Linked DNA regions of Homo sapiens: regions 2 and 3 are each linked to region 1. The links are contacts of gene promoters, found by promoter capture Hi-C in human tissues and cell types (Jung and others, 2019). All regions are on one chromosome and are shown on one strand. The core of a region is centred on a gene start or on the middle of the fragment in contact, and the rest is flanking DNA. Distances in the headings are between cores, read along the strand shown.

Region 1 (4,856 bases), core at 602-3,101:
GATGTAATACATGTTTTAAATGCACATTTAAGGAGAGAAATTGTAACTCTCCAAATAATTTTTAAAATAACTCTTCACAGTACACCTAGATTTCTGATTTTTTTTTTTTTTTGCATTTGTCCAACTTCTCCAAAGGCTTAGAGAAAAACAGGTCACTCTTAATTTGATGTAATAAAACAAATCATTGAAAAGTAACTCAACTTGATCAAACTCTTTCCTCAAGATTCAAAAGCAGAATGGTACAGCATTCTGGTTGCTCAGGCTCACTTCTTAACATTTTGTAACATTTGCTAAATATTTGTAATTAAAGGGTATACCTGGATCGAAGTGTAGACATAAATTACACCCAAAGTAAGAAATGAAAAATATAGGAAATTGACAAATGTACTGTCACATTTTTGTAATCACACAAAATGAACATAATGGAGAAGAAGAACATTGCCTGGAGCAGAAGACTAAGAAGATTTAAAAATCCTACAAATTCAGTTGTGCATTAACAACAACAAAACAAGGTAGAAACAAGGAGGCAGATCCATCATAGCTATTTACCCATATGTCAGTATCCCAGAATTCTTTCTCCAATTATTGTGCCACAGCTTAAAATCCATAATGTAGAAATAATCAATAGAATAAACTTGTTTAGGAACAAAATCTATAAGCTTCAGTATTGGATAATTTTCAAATATGGAAAACAAAATTCCATATTACCAATAACTTTAAAAACTTATCAATTTATGAATTATATTTTATGTAGGTTTTAGCACTAAAAGAAATGTTTTAAGCAAATTTTCAATATTATGATGCACAGGTGAAATGTGTTGTGTTATGGAAATTGCTATAATCTATCAGAGAAAGAAAGTTTGGGAAGCAAAATTGGAAACAAACTACACAGGGTATAGTAAAACTCTTCACCTTTGACCTCTGGTAATAGAACATCCATTACACAGCATTTGAGAGCTTTATTTCAAGCTCTTAAGCAATGCCTTATCTGTATAATACATCATTTATTCTCATCATCATCATTTGCCAGCTGTTATTCAACAACATCAACTCCTGCTAAGCTTGTTTGGGTATAAGAAATGTCCTTGCATCTATGCCTGGATGGCACAGGCATGTATGCATGGGCTTCTCTGTGTATGTGCAACTCAATGTGTTGTCTTCATATGGTATACAAAAGGCAATGTACACGTCAGTACATATGCATTATGCATGAACAATTTATGAAAGCAAGGTTGATGTTGATGTCTTGTTCCCTTTCACCTCCTTTCTATGACCTAGCACAATTGTCTTGTTAAAATTCGAGATAGAGGCATGGACATAATGTTTATGAACTTTTTTTCAGAACAGTGACCTCTGTTTCCAGAGCTAACATTAATCATTATCCATACAAGACATTGCTTTTTCCAGTGATGGGAGAGAGAAGAGGCTTGGCCCTGTCTCTTCAGGCCTCAGAATGTGGCCTGAGGTCTGGCTTACCACCCTTTCTGAGGCACCAGGCTATAGAAGCTGACTCTGTTAGCTTGAAAAACTGAATGAAGCTTAGATCTTTTACTAAACACAAAACTACCCCAAACTCATCTCTGACTTCACACAGAGGGATCCCTAACAAGGAAACTGACCAAGATAATTCCTGTTCCCTTGATGATTTGCCATTTTTTAACAGATCTCCAGATCAGCCTGAAGATCAACAGGATGATGAGTCCACTGAAGAAGGTCACAAAGGAAGAGAGAATGAATGCTGCTTGGATCTCAGTTGTGCAGGACATTTTTGGCAAGTCTTCCCAAGTTTCATTTCGTAGCTTAGTCTGAAACATGTTCGAGACATCAGTAGACGGAATTGCCAGGTCATTTGATGACGCCGTGGTCGCCTGGTAACAATTCCAGGAATCAGAGTTCACTGTACCACAGTGTTCCAACATTAGGCGTGATAACCAGTGAGAAGTTCCAGGAACAAGGGTCTGCCAATCCCCCGGTGCCAGCTCATGGGTTGTGAATGAATACACAACTGGAGATGGCTGGGGCCTACAATATGAATAGTCAAAAAAATCATAATTCTAGATCGGATTGTTACGACTTTCTCTATGCCTTGAAGAAATCCCATTATCTGTAGCAATGATCAGCTGGTTATCAGTTCAGTTAATGCAGTCAAATAATTTCAAATCAACTCTTTCGGAGTGAAACAACAGCCAACTATGTGTGTGAATGAGTTGGTTCTCTATCTGGGAGGATGCCACGTGCTTAGTAGGCTTGGAAGGACAGAAGAGAGAAGTACTTTAAAGTTTTTGTTTATCCTTTATACAAAGGAGCAGATATGCAGAATGAATAAGTCTAGAAGATCTAGTGTGCAGAACAAAGAACATAATTAATAAAATTATTTGTATTCAGGATTTTTGCTAAAAGAGTAGATTTTAAGGGCTCTTGTTACACGCACACAAAAGATGATTAACTCTGTGAGATGATAGATATATGAATTTGCTTGACTGTAGTCACTGCTTCACTATGCATAAGTTTATCAAAAGAGCATTTTGCGTTTGTACTTGTATGCGGAAGCTAAAACAGTGGATCTCATAAAGATAGAGAGTAGATTCATGGTTACGAGATGCCGGGAAGGGTGGCTGAGGAAAGAAGTTGGATAAAGAGAAGTTGATTAATGGGTACAAATATTTGGTTTGATAGAAGAAATAACATCTAATGTTCTATAGATCAGTGAAGTGACTATAGCTTATGATAATCTATTGTACATTTAAAAATAGCTAGAAGAGAAAAATTTGAATGTTTCTAGCACAAAGAAAATACAAATATGTAAGTTGATTGATATCCCAAGTACACAAATTATGTGAATGTATTAAATTATCACGTGACTTGAAAATATGTGTATCTGCTGTGCATCAATCCAAAGAATATCACGTTGTACTCCTTAATTACACACAATGAAAATCAAGATTATCTTGAAACAGAAAAAAAAAGGTTTTGTTTATTCTTTACATAAGAAAGGCATAGTATAGAGTGCAGGTATTGAAGAAGACAATTTAACTAGTGTGGTCATTGGTTGATTGTTATTTCAGCCCATAAATCCATTCCACTTATCTCTTCTTTATGGAACTCTCCCCTTTCTTGCTTTTATTACTGCCCTGGCAGCAAACCTTTTGGCCCAGCAGAGGTAAAGTTCAGAATGAGAGAAATTTCTTTGATTTTCCCTGATGTTTTCAAAGGTGTAAGAAATGTCATGCCTTTCAGTGTGCACAAGTGGCAGGCAAAATGTCAGAGCCCAGTGGAGGGCCTAGTTCACCCCAGTTATTACCAAGATAACCTGACACCAGGTGAAGAGGCCCAAGAGGAATCATCACGCTGTCCTTGGGAGCCCGCCATGACTCCACACTGTTTGGCAGGCTGTTTCAGAAGATAACTGTAGCATTTCCTAGGACTGCTGCCACAGTTACATTTCCTGCTTTTAAGCTTACCTATCATTTCTACAAAATCCTGTCATTGAGCTAGCTAATAACAAAGGGCGATGTTTAAAAGAACACTGGTCTAGGAGTTAGGAGCCCTGCGTTCCAGCCCAGTCCTTCTATTAAGTTACTGTGTGATTTCTAACAAGTCATTTTAATGTTCGTAGTCTTTTGATTTTATGTGGAAGATAATACCTACTTGATAGAATTATTGTGGGGATTCAAGAAGGTAGTGTGAACATATTTTGAAAAGCATAAAACTCAATATAAGATGCCATTAGCCATTTCAGTTCCTTTTTTGAATGGCATTAATTATAAAGACAGGAGGAGGAAGAAGTAAAGGAAAGGAGGGAGAGAAAGAAGGAAGGAGGGAGGCAGGGAGGGAGGTAGGGAGGGAGGTAGGGAGGGAGGAAGGAAGGAAGGAAGGAATGAACGGAGGGAGGGAGGGAGGAAGGAATGAGGGAAGGGAGGGAGGAAGGAAGGAAGGGAAGGAGGGAGGGAGAAATCACTTGTTTATCTCTTTCACATATGTGTGTGTGCGCACGCACACACACACACACGCGCGCACACACACACACACACACACTTACAGCTATGTGGACAAGATCAGACTTTCCAAGCCAAAATTCATCCACATCCTTTACTTAGTATTCTCCCTTTTATCTATCATTATCACTTTAATTTTCTTATTTTCTTCCCTTTTACTATTTACTGTTTGTTAGGATGGAGAAAAGAAACAGAGACAAGGGGAGGTCGCTCAACAGCAACACAGGTTTATTGGACAAAGACTTGCAGAAGGGGAACACCAGACAGCGCTGGAGCCCAAGCCCCGCTTACAGACTGGAGCAGTTGTAGGTCCCGACAGGAGAGGTGGGGCAGTATGGGTCGCTGCAGGGCAGGATGTGATAAAGGAAGAATTTCCTGCAGTCAGACGGTTAGGCCTGGGACCTGCCAGGATGTTTCTCATGGCCCGAGCCCCTCCAGGGGAATTTTCCACCCTAACCAGGGTGTGCAAAATGGCAGGGGTTTACAGGATGGCGCTGCTTGGGCTAACACTATTTTCAAAGTATTTCGATTCTGCTGTATTATGATGCATCCTGGGCACCTCTTCCCTTTTTGCAGATATTGCTTTATGAACACAAAAAGGATTCCATTCAATTCGAACAGGCAGGTAGTTTGTCCCTCTAATATGCTGTTATCACGATAATAATATTACTGTCTGCAAATGAGTAGAAAAATGTGCAGGTGGTTTCAAAATCAGTCTCTTCAAACCCATCTTGAACCTACAGTGACGAACAGTCCCTGTTCAGAACTGTCCCAGGTTCAAAACTGAAAGTCCAGTGACTGGAGAAACCGCCTAGTCCTGGCAAACCACAGAGACTGGTCACCTCCCATCCCACGACACAT
Region 2 (4,856 bases), core at 830-3,329, 1.3 Mb after region 1:
GGTAACCAAATACTACCTGTTCCCCAAAAACCTATAGAAATAAAAAATTTAAGAAAAAATTGTCAATGCCTAAAAAGGTTTTCACAATACATTAAGCAAATACAAGCAAATTATAAAATTATAATCATCATAATGGCCACCAGTTCAATTTTCAGTTTTAAACTTTTATATATTTTTCCAAATTTTCTAAAGTAACTTTTGATCACTCATAAATAAATACTACAGATGTATTAATCACTTTTTTAAACACAAAAAGAATTGAAAGCTGTGCATTTCTCAAACATGAATGAGCACCACCTATAGTTTGCTGATGGGTTCCTCCCGAAGAGTTTCTGATGCAACAGGTTCCCAGGTGATGTTGATGTTCCCATACTGGAGGGACTACACTTTAGACTACTGGGTTATAGATAGGATCATAGACTTCTGGGCCAGATTATCAAGTTTAAAGCTCACCTTCAACACTTGTTTTTAGTGGGTAAATTAATTAACCTCTGAGCTTTAGTTTCTTCATTTGTCAAGTAAAAATTAAAATGGCACATAATAGTACCAACCCCTTAAGACTGTTCCATAATTTAAATAAATTAACATTTACAGGGAACTCAGAAGCACACTTATGACATAGTAAATGTTAAATGTATTATTTTAGTGAGAATGAAAATCTAGCATTGTTCATATTTCACTAAAAATGTCAAGTAACAGGTTTAAAGATTTCTACCACATTTTGAAACTTATTCATAGTTTTTATTTTGTTAACTCCTTTTCAATTCCTTTGTAGTTGCTTGCCACAAAGTCTTTCAGAATCTTGAAAAGAATTATGTGTTTACTGAATGACTAGGAGTGGACAGAGTGGAGGGAGAGGCCAGTTAAATACTGAACCCTGAACCCAGGAGGTACTGGGGGCTGGCATGAGAGACAGGGAGGCAGGAAGTTGGGGGCTACACTCTGATACCAACAGAATAATGGATAAGGTCTGATGTACACATCACTTGGTCAAGAAAGATTGTCTACATTTAAATAATAAAAATATGACTCTAGGAGGGAAACATCATGATCCACAGCTAGGGTGATGCTATAGTTTATCATCTAAACTGAGACACTTTGAAAGTAAACAGAAGAAGGTGTTTTGTTAACAATTACAATTGGTCAAAATGCAAAAATGATACTATCTGTGGCTTCCACCTTTTAAAATATCAAAATTACTAACTAAAATTTGTTATTCTCCTTTATTGACAAGGATAATTCCTATGAGGTTTGTATTACTATGGAATCTTGGAATTCTAATAGTTTTCAGAGGAAGCATAAGTGTAGTTGAAATAATAGAAACCTAGGAGTCAAAGAGTCTTCAATTCAGGGTGGACAGTGGACCAGGCCAGAAATTTCCATCCTGGGTCCACATAGTCTCTCATTTCTGTTGCCATTGATCTTCCTAAGGCTAGGATTAATGAAGGCATGAGTGTTTTCTCTTCTAATTTGATTTCAGAAGATGAATGAATTTGGGAAGAGAGAGAGAGAGAAAGTGTGTGTTTCTATATGCATGGTATATGCCATCATGCATATGCATGCACACTTACACACACACACATACTCATTCTATGTGTTACTTGAAAGGGAAAAAGAAAATTAATCAGGCCCTTCCATAAAGGCTGAAAAAAGAAAGAAAAGAAGTCTGCAATAGGCTGATTACTTTCCAGGAGATAAACATTCTCTAAATGTTTAGAGTAATCTCAGATTGAACGTGCTTACTAACTGAAATTAGCCAAGTCCTCCCAAAGAGCTTATCACTCGGTTCAGTAAGAAGAGCTAGCAGAATGTTTAAAGAGTATGAAACCAAGTACTGTAACACATCCACACTTCAGTGGGGCAGAATAGAGAATGGGAAATTTGATGTTTCTTTCAGTAATGACTGCCAATTCAGTCACCTTCTGTATGGAGGACGAACATTCAGAGATGGGTGAAAAAAAGGTTCCCCCAAATACTTTTAACATTAGATAAGAAAGACTACCAAATCAAATTCTTGTGTTATAATCTGTCAAATAATTTATGTTTTCAACAAAAGTATGTGTTTAAAGAATGAGTGAGAAAAAACACTTACAATAAATATCATAAATTTCTATATTAAAAGCAGTGAAGAAAGTGACCCTTTCTTATATCTTTTAAGAGGATTTACAAATAGCATACAATTTCTGATTCTGTTCTCATTAAAAAAGATGATCAGCTAATATATATAACCTTTTGATACACTTCCATGGAGAACTGTATATGCAAATATAATTCTATATTATATCCTAAGTATTTACTTTATGACAATGATCAGACCTCAATAAAATGAGTTGGGAAAGATCATTTACAAAATAGTCTTGTACATTTAACCATAATAATAAAAAATATTCTTTCCAGTGTGAAGCTATTACCATTGGCAGGCAACGATCTGAAATAGAAATGATGCAGTGCCCTCTTTCTGAAATAGAACTAAATATTCCGCAGATTCCCATTGAGATCTGTCAGCTTTCTTTTGCAGATCACCAAAGAACTAAACCCACCATCACTTAGACCAAGCAGCAGAAGATGATGCCATAACATGCCTCTTCTTTTCAAGGTCCAGCTCTGTGCTTTAGATTCCCATCTCCTCTCACTGTTTCACAACTTTTTCCAGCCTAAGAATGCTGGCTGCCCCCTGATTCAGCATTCTGTGGGAGTCTGTGACTCCCACAGAATGATCTCCATGCCCTTCCCCTAGATCCTTCCTCATTTCCACAGAGAGCAAACTGACTCACTAGCAGAGAAGTCTCTGTATGCCCCAAGACAGCACACACAGTAGGTACACATTTTACAGAAGTTCTCAGAATATCCTTCTTGGTAAAGCACAGTACAGTGTTCTTAGTACATTAAATACGGTTACTTGGGTTTTAGCACCCTGAGATAGAATAAGCTTCGGATACCTGACATGGTATAAAGAAAATATGTGAATATGTCCAAAGCCATGAGGTCATTCCTCTCCTCTCTGAATTACTGGTTGTAAACCCAGAGGAAGCTACCTGATCCTAATGGTCCTCACCTATATTATGGTATTTTGATGTCTGTAATTTACTGTCAAATACTTAAGCACAGTGGTGTGTGTGTGTTGTGTGTGTGTGTGTGTGTGTGTGTGTGTGTGAGAGAGAGAGAGAGAGAGAAACAGAGAGAGAGAGAGAGAGAGAGAGATGGTGTAAGAAATAGAGTTTTAATTTACAACCAACCCAAGGTAATTACTTGTCTGAATTGGGTTTGCTCTCATATAATCTAAGCATTATAATAGCTACAACAAACACTTCAGCTGTCTTATCTCTGCTCGGGAAGAGAGCTTTTATTAATTAACATAAAACAGATTTTTCGTATGGATTTTCATTGGTGAATTTTGTTGTGCTTGAATTCCTTGGATTGGCTGGAAATATTATTCAAACTACTAAACAAACTATTCTATCAACAAGTTATACAAAGACCGGACATTTGAGGTGGGACTTGAGCTTTGTTTTTTAAAGAATCTCTAATCCAACCACTATTTCGGAAGATTCTGGTTACCAATGCTGATTATAAATTACATTACTGTAATTCCTCCTAAGTAAGATCTAGTATAGACTCTTACCTCATGCCTCTAGAGTAACTCTTGTGTTTGTCACAATCAATCTTTCATACATGCTGGGAGCAGAACCCTTAAATAAGGGAATGCTGGATGTCACTGTTTACCTAGTGTGGTGTATAACTAATTTCATACTTTCCTTCCAATAAATATATTCATGTGTAGTAGGATTTGGTACAAAATATACTTGTGAATGGCAGCAAGGTTATGAAGGAAGACACATGTAACTCTCACCTACCTTCAATAACTGTAGGTCCCTGCTATTAAAAAACAACAAAAACCACCAATTAAAAAAATCTAATAACCTTGAATAGCCAAATGTGTTTATGTCAATTTATAATAAACAGGAAGAAAAATAAAATGAAAGTAATTTCACGTTTTGCAAGGAAACATCAGCTGTACAGGTTGTACAGGGTTTTCTGAGGACAACATGTGCTATGGTGCACTTGGAATATAGATAGTGCTAAAAAATTATTTTGTTATTCTACAAATCAAATAGGTCCTGGAATCAGAATTCTATTGGCACAAGACAGGGCGCTTCATCAAACCCCTTAAAGAATTTCTGCTTCTTGTTGGTTGTCCCGCTTCTTATTAGATGAATAATGGTCAGACGATGGATTCTATTGCATATGGCGCTGATTCTCCTTCGTTCCTCCCAAGTAAGATCTAGTATAGACTCTTCAGCCAGCATATTCTCATTAACCTACTCTATGATACATCATAGCCCAAATGGGCAACTTATTTTATACTTCAGTTTCATTATACCAAAATCAAAGAGATGTCAATTGTTAGGAATCACTTTGAAAGCCAGTGACCCACGTCTAACATACTCAGTTTCTTAACTAACATTTTGACCTACTTCTGTTCTAGGATATTAAAAAGTTCACAATTCAAGGCACCACCAGGAAAAGGAAGTGGAGGAGACTAAATTACAGTAGTCACCCTTATCTACAGGGGGTACATTCCAAGGCCCTCCGTGAATGCCTGAAACTGTGGATAATAGCAAACCATATCTATACTACATTTTTTCCTATACATACATACCTATAATGAAGTGTGATTTATAAATTAGACACAGTAAGAGATTAATAACTAATAAAATAGAATAATTGTAACAATACTGTAATAAAAGTTATTTCTCTCTCAAAATCTTACTGTGCTGTACTCACCTATTTTTGGACTGCAGTTGAATGCAGGTAATTGAAAGCTAGGAAAGAGAAACCATGGATAGGTGAGGAGT
Region 3 (4,856 bases), core at 1,605-4,104, 1.3 Mb after region 1:
TCCAATAATGAAGTCATGAGACCTGATTTTGAGCTGAAAACCTCATATTCGTCATTCAGGTCTTTCTGGGGAAATGTGTTGTAGTTTTCCTTAAATGCCCTTCTTTAGTCAAATGGAAATATTACATAGATTTATAATCTCTACCTTTTTTACTTCTCTGCAAAGTAATTGAGCAGTTGGTATTATCGTGCTCTGGAAAGGTAAATAAATTAAAGCACAGAGAGTATATTAAGTGAGTATTCCAAAGCAAAGAAAGTTATTAAATCAAGGCTATACGGTCCCTTTCCCCACAAACATAGACACTCAATATGGGCTGTCCCAGTAAATGATGACAATGTTTTTGGTAATCTATGGGCTCTTTAGCTTTGGATCTGAAGATACTATTTACTTCTATTTACTGATTACTCCCCATATGAAGAATACTAGGCTAAGAGCTTTCATGCATTATTCCATTTACTTTAACTTGGCAAGGCAATGCTATTAGGCAAATTATTACCCCCACTTTAAAATGAAGGAAATGAGACTCATAGAACATAAATGGGCTGTCTAAGCTTAAATCTATGTATTTGACTTCGAGTATTAACTAATAAGTATACTTCCTCCTGATAAGGAGAAGTTTTTACCTACACAGGTCTGATAAATGAATGCCGTTCATAAAACTTGCATTCTCTTTGATGAGAATAGGTTGATGCCTCCTGTTATATCACAAGAGTCCTGTTAGTGAGGAAGGTGCAATAATAGATTATTTCATATCAGCTACCACCCTCTCCAACTCCCACCTCCACATGGCACGAATATTTATTTTCTCTCTGCAGAGGCTTTGCTGGCCACTTTTCTCCTATTTCTAACTCCAATTAGCAAGGGCTCTCTTGTTTCCCAAGCACTCCCACACCCTCAGTTTTCTTCTAACTCACCTGGTAAGGCAGCAGGCTGAAGACAAGAATCTTAATTAAAAAGTCATCAGCATTGTCCCGTGGAAATCACACCTTCTTTGCCAGGAGGTGTTTTCAATGACACCATGTATTGCTATTCAGGAATGATGGCAAAATGTGACTGCAATCACTTTTCAAGATTAAATGTCCCAGAGCAATTTGCTGCAGCTGGCCAGGTGATAAAGTAGTTAGTGCTGGAAACCATTCCAAGTTGTGACATAACTTTAAAAAATAGAGAATTCTGTCCTCCACGTTTAAACATGAATGTAATAACTCAAGGAGACAGAGGACACAGACAATAACACTACCAACTTAGGGAAATCACGGCTTTCTATATTTGAGATAGCTAGGCACTGAATATTCAAATTTGACAACTCATTTCAACTCATACAATAGATAGCTGGGAACTGAATGTCCACATTTGACAACTAATTTCTCCTTTATAGGAAAAATCAGCACTGAAATCGAACTTTTACAACAATGCATTATTTTACCCAAAGTGAAGGATGATTTTGATTTTCTCAAAGAGTGCAGGCAAACAGAGAATCCTATAAAGTGGTAAAAGAGAGCTAGTGATCTCTGTCCTTGGGAGTGGTCAAAAGTACTTGCCTATCCCTGTTTATCTGTGTCTTCACGTGCACATGCTCTCAATAGTTATTCATTACTCTAATATAGGGCAATCCCTAAACGACCAACACATTACCGGGCTAAGTTAGTTTCAACTATTACATTCTGAATGCCATCTTGGTTTTGACATTGAGAAATTTATCTAATTCATAGTAAAAGCAGGTAAATATCTGCTTTAATAATTTTAAACTTTGTGTTATCCTTACGGAAAAAGTTGACACATTTCTCAATTTCTTTGAGAGAATCTTAAAGAATTCATAAAAGGATTGTTTATATATCCTTTTGATAAGATCACAGAATTTTAGATTTGGTAGGAAAAAATATCACATTGGTCATTGGTGATCTAATACTACTTCTCAAACAATCTCCCACTAAAAAGTGATCATCTAGCCATTTGGCGAAAGCTTTTCGTTATCAGAAACACACTCCATGATTACACAGCTCTTGTTGGAAGATAGTGCTTGGTAATCTTGAATGAGTTCTATTCCCTCCACCCTACCCCAACATCTGCCCAAAGGTCCTAGTTTTGCCCTAAAATAGATACTGGATGAGAACACATCTTCTCCCTTCACTATCTGAAAGTTCTTTAAATATTTGGAGACAGTTATTGATAGGTTACTCAAACAAGTCTGATTTTTTCTTCTTTTTTTTTTTTTTTTTTTGCCTGTCATAGTTTCATTATGGCATGGAAGGTTTCAAATATAAAGGTTCTGGATTAGTTTGAACATTAATGCTGCATATCTAAGAGGATGAATCCAAAAACCTCATGTACTGCAGCTGAATCTAAATTATCTTCTACCCTGCCTTCATAGCTTAATTTCTGCTTTCAAGCTGTCAATCCACTCCCACTTTGAAACCAGCTAATTTGGTGTGTCCACACACTTCCCACTTCCTCATCTTCCCAGAGCACAGTTCCATGATGAATTCAGCATTGAGGAAAGAACAGGTAACCTCAGCTGGGTTCTCAGGAAAGGACATTAGAAATTACAAACTATCCATCCAGTGCTCAAAGACAACTGGCACTTGAGTTATGGGCATGTTTTAAGGAATTCGTCTTAAGAAAAAACTGTGAGGGAGTACGAATTTCTGAACTTACACACTCAAAACCTGCTTGTCTGAGAAAGCGTCACAAGGTATCACAAATGTTTTCACCCACTAATTTTATAGTTATTTCCATGACCTGGAATTTCACCCCTTGTCAAAGAGTCTCTAGGAGACAGCATCCTAGACTTTAATCATTTTTATTCCAAGAAAAAGTAAAATTAAGTTGCAGCAAGTGGTACAATTTTCCCATTTTCTCCTCACTTCTTGCAGAAAGAAATTCCAAAAATATGCTACGTAATACAACCATGCTCAAAGAAACACAATCCACCATTGGCCTATACTGCACTTGGGAGCATGCAGTTGTGCTGTCTAGAAAAGTCCTATGAGGCAGAGATTGTTTTTATTTCAATATATGTGAATACCAACCTCTCTTTTTATATGATCAATGAAATTCTCATTACATAAAATATGAAAAAATCTGTAAATTATGATGGCAAATACAGGACTGTTGAAATCCAAACTTTTCTCATTTTCAACTAAAAATTGAATTTCCATTTTTGAATGGCGTCCATGAGAAATAGTCTCATGGGATAATAGAAATGACTTTTTTAAGGAAATAACACCATCTTGTGGGCATTTAGGACTCTAAAGCTCAGTACCATTTCCAATGTGTTGCATTTTTACAATCTGATTAAAAAAGCACTGGCTTGAATGTAAAGTTTTATGAATTAGATAATGCAGAAGGATGCAAAGACAAATTATATATAAATCCTACTTCCTGGACACTCAAATCCAAGGTTAGGCACACACATGCATACACAGGTATCTAATAAGAAAAAAAGTGCTGATACAGAACATAAGGTTTTAGTTATGTTCAAGAGACAGTGAGAGATGAATTCTGACTGTAAGAATCTGGGAAGTCTTGGAGCAGGTGATATTAGTACTGGACCTTGACATCTTTATTAGACTTCGGTAACTCCTTGTGAAGAGGAAGATTATTCCCAACATTATGATCAGCATGAGGAAAAAGCATGAAGGTAGGAGTATCAGTTTCATCCTGCTGCTGTAACAAATCATCTACTACAAGCTTGGTGCCTTACAACACAAATTCGTCATCTTATAGTTCTGAAGGTTAAAAGTCTAATACAGGCATCACTGGGCAAAATCAGTTGTCAGCAGCCTGTGTTCCTTTTTGGATACTATAGGAAAATAACCCTATTTCCTTGCCTTTTCCAGGTTCTAGAAGCTGCCCACACACCTTGGCTCATGGTCCCTTCCTCCACCTTCAAAATGAGCAATGGTGGATGGAGTTCTCTGCATTGTCTTCTACGATAACATCCCCCTCTAACTCCTCTCCTCTGCTTTCCTCTTTCACTTTTAAGGACCCCTGGGATTGCACTGGGCCCACCTGAGAAATCCAGATCCTCTTCCTATTTTAAGGTCAGCTGAGTAGCAACTTCAAGTCCATCTAACCTAACATATTCACAGGTTTCAGGGATTAGGATATCTCTGGGAGACCATTATTCTGCTTATAACAGTGGAAGAAGACAATATTAAGAGAATGATGAGTAGATTGAGTTTCACATAAAGAAACAAAGACACATGAAAAGGATATAAGGAGGGATACAACTGAAAAGAAAAGGATTGAGACTTATGTGGCTTTTGAGCATACAATATTTTTTTGAGGTTGGGTCTTGCTCTGTTGCCCAGGCTGGAGTGCAGGGGCATAATCTGGGCTCACTGTGCCTTGGCTTACTGTGATTGAGACTTATGTGGCTTTTGAGCATACAATATTCTTTTGAGGTTGGGTCTTGCTCTGTTGCCCAGGCTGGAGTGCAGGGGCATAATCTTGGCTCACTGTGCCTTGACATGCCAGGCACATGTGGTCTTCCCACCTCAGCCTTCCAAGTAGCTGGGACTACAGGTGCATGCCACCACAACTGGCTAATTTTTTGTACTTTTTGCATAGACAGTGTTTTGCCACGTTGCCCATGCTGGTCTGGAACCCCAGGACTCAAACAATCTGCCCAGCTCTGCCTCCCAAAGTGTTAGGATTACAGGCATGAGCCACCGCGCCCAGCCAAGAAATATTATTTGACCTTGTCATAAAGAATATAATCCTGGCAGTGATATGTATGGTAGACTGGAGGAGATATCTACCCAAGGTGGGAAACCAAGTAGAAAACCATCACTATCCAGGTGGTGACAGATAAGTGCCAGAACTCATATGGGGATTGCATGAAGGAAGTGGCA

The links. The method cuts DNA at HindIII sites, captures the fragments that hold promoters and counts their contacts. A contact is called where the count stands out against the background at its distance.
Region 2: a contact is called between a fragment that was not itself captured here and the fragment with the promoter of KCNU1 in region 1, in 1 of the 25 tissues and cell types used here (dorsolateral prefrontal cortex).
Region 3: a fragment that was not itself captured here is called in contact with the fragment with the promoter of KCNU1 in region 1 in 1 of the 25 tissues and cell types used here (dorsolateral prefrontal cortex).

What each region holds. Positions count from the first base shown.
Region 1 is chr8:36,781,369-36,786,224 of GRCh38, reverse strand. KCNU1 (potassium calcium-activated channel subfamily U member 1) reads right to left here and starts at 1,851. Exons shown (of 27, transcript NM_001031836.3): 1 at 1,620-1,851. The coding sequence starts at 1,814. The HindIII fragment of the contact is 3,588 bases long and covers 1,301-4,856 here.
Region 2 is chr8:35,441,203-35,446,058 of GRCh38, reverse strand. The region is part of intron 1 of UNC5D (unc-5 netrin receptor D); the gene reads right to left. Among named protein-coding and RNA genes, the nearest start is that of UNC5D, 210 kb to the right of the region's middle. The HindIII fragment of the contact is 4,392 bases long and covers 1-4,275 here.
Region 3 is chr8:35,464,938-35,469,793 of GRCh38, reverse strand. All of the region lies in intron 1 of UNC5D (unc-5 netrin receptor D), which reads right to left. Among named protein-coding and RNA genes, the nearest start is that of UNC5D, 230 kb to the right of the region's middle. The HindIII fragment of the contact is 3,194 bases long and covers 1,258-4,451 here.